Regions from separate parts of the Homo sapiens genome. Here region 2 is linked to region 1. The links are contacts of gene promoters, found by promoter capture Hi-C in human tissues and cell types (Jung and others, 2019). All regions are on one chromosome and are shown on one strand. Each heading gives the region's core, a stretch centred on a gene start or on the middle of the fragment in contact. The rest is flanking DNA. Distances are from core to core; before and after follow the strand shown. Region 1 holds the start of INPP5B (inositol polyphosphate-5-phosphatase B). Region 2 holds the start of GJA9 (gap junction protein alpha 9).

The links. The method cuts DNA at HindIII sites, captures the fragments that hold promoters and counts their contacts. A contact is called where the count stands out against the background at its distance.
Region 2: a contact is called between the fragment with the promoter of GJA9 here and the fragment with the promoter of INPP5B in region 1, in 2 of the 25 tissues and cell types used here (dorsolateral prefrontal cortex and spleen).

What each region holds. Positions count from the first base shown.
Region 1 is chr1:37,945,617-37,948,316 of GRCh38, forward strand. INPP5B (inositol polyphosphate-5-phosphatase B) reads right to left here and starts at 1,437. Exons shown (of 24, transcript NM_005540.3): 1 at 1,374-1,437; 2 at 636-718; 3 at 140-234. The coding sequence starts at 692. LOC105378651 (a long non-coding RNA gene) reads left to right here. Exons shown (of 5, transcript XR_001737983.3): 5 at 1-11. RefSeq lists enhancers at 1,259-1,788, 1,366-1,605. The HindIII fragment of the contact is 19,061 bases long and covers 1-2,700 here.
Region 2 is chr1:38,879,992-38,882,910 of GRCh38, forward strand. GJA9 (gap junction protein alpha 9) reads right to left here and starts at 1,596. Exons shown (of 2, transcript NM_030772.5): 1 at 1,441-1,596. GJA9-MYCBP (GJA9-MYCBP readthrough) reads right to left here and starts at 1,635. Exons shown (of 3, transcript NR_037637.1): 1 at 1,441-1,635. The HindIII fragment of the contact is 16,120 bases long and covers 1-2,919 here.

The DNA of each region.
Region 1 (2,700 bases), core at 187-2,686:
AAAAATATTAACTATCATTGTGATAATTATTCTAGGAGACTCAGACCCTGCCCTGGAGGGACAGTTGAAGTTCAGCTGGAGGGTGCAGTGATGAACAACCCCATGGCCCAGACAGGTGGGGACCAAGCCCCTCACTCACGCGTGTTCCTGGCCGCCGTGCTCCAGGCGGTAGCGCACGAGTCCCAGGAGGCGGCTCTGCCGGCTGTCCCCCTCACACAGCACACCTTGCACCGCCTGCGGCTCAGAGTCAAGGGAAGACAACCCAGAGGCGAGGCCTCTCCCCACCCAGGCTGTCCCACCTTCCCTCTGTTCCCCTGCCCCCCCAGATTCACTGTGTGGCCTTGGGTGAGCACTCAAACCATGTGCTGAACTAACAGACAAACAGGCTCTCTAAGCCTTCCTTATCTATGAAATGAGGATAATAATCCCCAACTTCATAGGGAGTTAGGAGGATAACTGCGTATTTAAAGCATTTGGCTGAGAGTCCAGGACTCAGTAAGTACTTAGTAAATACTGATTTCCTTCTCCCCTGATGGTTCAGAGGGGCAGGAGAGGGGATAGACACCTCGACACCTTCCATTCCTCTTCCCAAGGCCAGGGCAGGCTCAGGGCCGCAGTTAGCACAGGAAGGATATGATGACGCAGTATTCCCCCTCAGCCAGCGTCTCCTGGATTGCCACAGACTGGTCCATGCTGGCCCCTGCTGAGCGCACACACCCTGTGGGAGGGGAGATAGGAGCCCCGCTTTGGTCAACAAGTTACGCATGGGGTGGTGGAGCTGCCTCAGAGGGGTTGGGGGCAGGAGGGAGGGGCCTTTGCAGAGGGAGATGGTACCGGGGAGGCCTGATCCTCCTCCTCCTCCTCTTTGTCCTCCCTAGAATAGGCCTTTCAGTTTTTAGGGATAGGGGTCCAGTCCCTTTGCCCCGCTGGGATCTACAGTTTGCTATACTGCCTTTGTCTGGGAGGGCATCCAGTTGCTCTTGAGTGTGGTCTATCCTTGTTGGAAGTGGGGTACGTGGATTGGAGAAGGGGACCTAGTCCCTTTGCTCCTAGGACATGGCTCTTCCTCTCTTTTGGGGACAGTTTTTGTTCTGCTAGCGCCTCTCTGGGAGGTGTCAGTGGTGTGTCCATGTGGGGTTCAGGGAACATCCCCTTACTGTCATTCAGGAGGGTCCCATTCCTCTTTCCTTGGAGACAGGAAGTGTCCCATTGCTGCTTGCCCTTCACCCCCGCCCCAGCAGGCCCATTGCATCAGCTGCAGGCCGGGGGTTGGGGGGTGTCCCAGCCCTCAGCTTGCCCACTCCCTCCTGCCCAGCCCTGCCCTGGCTTTCCTGCTCTGCTCCCACCCACAGCTCCCTGACATTGTCACCTACCTCCTGAGCTGTCACCACAGGGCGCACGGGACTCCGCTGCCCCAGGTTCCGGGACAGTGACTACATTTCCCAACAGCCCCTGCGCCACATGGTGGTCAGTCAGCCTGCAAGTCCCAGCATGCCCGAGTCAATCGTGGGGTGGGGAGTCTCTCCATCCGTGTTAACCCCTTAGGCCCTGGGGTACACTGGGCTTCCTATACCAGAAAGGTTTTCTAATGATTGCCCTCACTCCCATCCCCAGCCCTCTAGGTCATGGGGCCAGAGCTTCCCACCCAGAAGGAAGATGGTCACATTTTATCTTAGGGGAAGAATATAATGCATTTTTATTTTCTCCTTAGTTCCATCCTCAGCTCTTCTCACTCCAGGGTAGACAACCCGGACCTCTACTGAAACTCTTCCCCTAAAATAACTACCTTCTCCTGGTTTAATGGAGGGAGAACCAGACTATGAAGAACCATTATGTCCATTTTCCAGGTGGAGAAACTGAGCCTTGGATAGGTTAAGCAGTTTGACATTAAGTCCTGCAGCTAGCAGGTGGCAACACTGGGACTCCACTGAAAGTCTGACTGCAACTCCTGGGCCATTTATACCGCTACACACTGCCCTATTTCCTCCCTTAGCCCCACCCAGCCCTCCTGCCACACAGGGCTGTTTGAGGCTACTGGGTGTGAACGCACTTTATAAAGGGTATGACACTGTTCCTGTCCGGCAACGTCCTTCCCCTGATCCGCCTGGCTTTGTGACCTTGGCCAAGACCTTTCTTCCCTTGGGACTCAATTTCCCCATCTAAGATAAGGAGGTTACCCAAGATGGACAAAAAGAGCCAGCACAGGGACTGGGCACAGTGGCTCATGTCTGTAATCCCGGCACTTTGGAAGGCCAAGGAGGGAGGATCGCTTGAGGCCAGGAGTTTGAGACCCCATCTCTAAAAAAAAATTTTTTTAAATTTAGCCGGGTATGGTGGTGCATGCCTGTAGTCCCAGCTACTTGGGAGGCTGAGGTGGGAGGATTGCTTGAGCCCAGGAGTTCAAGGCTGCAGTGAGCTGTGATTGCTCACCCAGCTCAGATAAGGAATGCTAGGATCATTCTCACTTGGCCTATTGGCTGTTTAATTAAGCTGTAAGCTCCCGTTGGACAGGACTATGCCTTTTCATCAACATACCAGCAGTTTCTGGCACACAGTTATCTATGGAGTTAGTGAATTACTTTCTGAACTATTTTAATAAATACACCTTCTCTCAAGCTTTGGCCCAAACTGAAGGAATGGGCCTTCAGTGCTGGGGAGGGGGTGACTGTTGTGACTTGTGAACAGTTTCCCTTCCTCTTT
Region 2 (2,919 bases), core at 346-2,845, 930 kb after region 1:
CAAGCGTGAGCCACCGCGCCCGGCTCTGTTAATACGATTTGCAAAAGCATCAACCTTCTAAAATATAGTTGTATTCCTGAAATAGAGAAACTTTCCATTGACTTTATTATGTTAATAATAGCATACTCTGGCCGGGCACGGTGGCTCACGCCTGTAATCCCAATACTTTAGGAGGCCGAGGCCAGCGGATCACTTGAGGTCAGGAGTTTGAGACCAGCCTGGCCAACATGGTTGAAACCCTTGCTCTACTAAAAATACAAAAATTAGTCGGGCGTGGTGGCGGGCGCCTGTAGTCCCAGCTACTCGGGAGGCTGAGGCAGAAGAATCACTTGAACCCAGAGGCAGAGGTTGCAGTGAGCCGAGATCACACCATTGCACTCCAGCCTGGGCGACAGAGCAAGACTCTGTCTCAAAAAAAAATAAATAATAATAATAATAATAATAATAATAATAATAATAATAGCATACTCTGACCCAACAACCCAAAGCACTTTAAAATGTAAGCAAGTTGGCCAGGCGCGGTGGCTCACGCCTGTAATCCCAGCACTTTGGGAGGCACAGGCGGGCGGATTACGAGGTCAGGAGTTCGAGACCAGCCTGAGCAACATGGTTGAACCCCATCTCTACTAAAAATACAAAAATTAGCCGGGCATGGTGGCACATGCCTGTAATCCCAGCTACTCAGGAGACTGAGGCAGGAGAATCGCTTGAACCTGGGAGGTGAAGGTTGCAGTGAGCCGAGATCTGGCCACTGCATTCCAGCCTGGGCAATAGAGTGAGACTCTGTCTCAAAAAATAAAAAAAAAGTAAGCAAGTTAAGTCTCATTTATGGTTCATAAATAATAATAATGTAAGCAAAGATGTAATTCATGTTGTTTATAATAGTCATAAGCTAAAAACATAAAATAATAATACAAGAAAAACTGGTTAAATAATCGACTACATCCACGGTGTGATACTATGCAACCAGTAGAAATGATAAACATACATAAAATGGCATTTGATATTTCATTTCAGTGAAATTGATGTTATAAAATAGAATAATATGGCCCCATTATTATAAGTTTAGTTACATTTACAGATGTATACAAAAAAGTCTAGAAGGATATTCATGAAAATATTAACGGTGATTAGCTCTGGATGTTGGGATTACAAATTATATACTTAATATATTGTAATTACATGTATTTTAATTTTTTACTATAAGCATTTTACTTTTATAATCATAAAAAGAAAGAAAATATTTTTTTCATAAAGGACAACACATAGTATTTCCTGAAAGAAGGAGCAGTAGTATTTAGCTACAAATTAAAGCTTTCATAGCAAATGACATAAAAACTGGTATACATATATACAGTACCATAGAATTCAAAAGAAAAAGATAAAAACATTTCAAACAACTCTTTCTTAATAAGCTAAAACAGAGAGATTAACACAAACCTTTCTTAGTTTAGGTAAATCTGAGAAGCAAACCATGTTTAGAAGTTACAGCATGGCCATCTTCAATTTATTTTCTGAATTTGTCCCTTTGCTGGTATAGAGCAGATTCAGTTCAGTTGAATGTAGTGAGTGAGTCATCCATCAACTAAAATCCATGTCCCTTTCTGCTTATCCTTGCTTTTAAAACAGCACCATCCAATAGAACTTTCTGCAACAATGGAAATATTCTATCTGTGCTAGCCAATAAGGCAGCCAGTAGCCAAATGTAGCTATTGAACACTTGCATTATGGTTTGTGTGTCAGAGCAATTGAATTTTTAATTTTAAATAATTTTAATAAAAATGTAAAGAGCTGCATCTACCTAATGGCTGCTTTTTTGGACAGCACAGATAAAGAATGCTTATAATAGTCCTGATAACACACTGCAATCTAGAAGACTAAAGTCATGAGCCCCAAATTAAGCTGAGTGAATGATTCCTCCATAATTCAGAGATGTCAAATTTAAAATGACAGGAGGTATTTGTGTGCTGTTTGTATGCAACTTTTGCCACTGGGGGAACCTAATAAAATGTCATTGTTTTTTGTGCAATAAACCATGTTTCTAGAACCAAAAAAGTCTTTCTTACTAGATAATAACTTCTTGGTCATCTGCCTTAATAAATGGGTCATGTCCGATTTCATAGATAGATCCTGATTCTGTCTCCCATGTTCTGTTATTAACAATTACATTGTATTTTAGGTCATTAAAGGTCCCTTCAGAGCTAGTGATCTGGCAGGTTGAGCATAACAGATAAATACTTCTTCCCTGGGCTTTTTTGCCAACAATAGCTACTTCTCAGATTAAATACAAACATTTCACCAGGGACAAATATATATATATATATATATATATATATATATATATATATATATATATATATTTACATATATATTTTTATATATATATTATTTATATATATATATATTTGTATAGGCACACATACATGCACAATATATTCATGTTTCTATATTATGTGTTATCTGAATTACATATGTGTAACTCATAAATTATTAATAAACTCGAAACTTCCTCAACCTCGGTAGTCAGAGAATACATATTTAAGTGAAATATTATTTTTTAACTATCAAAATGCAAAATTTTAAAGATTTATAATACCTTCTTTTGGCAAAGTAGGGAGACACTGTTACTCTCATATCCTGTAGGTAAGAATATAAATGGATACAGCTATTTAAAAGGCAGTTTAAACCTATCAATATTAGTATAGCATTTCTGCTTTTGGATACTTGAAATATTCATTCAGCATAGACATTCAGAGACACACTGCACATGCTAGGATGTTCACATAGCACTGTTGGTAATTATACAAAAGCAGCAATAATTTAAATGTCTGACAGAGGAATGGTTATCTATGGTACATCTATATCATTCAGCAATTCAGAGAATAAAGATTTCTATGAACTAATAGAGAAAGGTCCCTA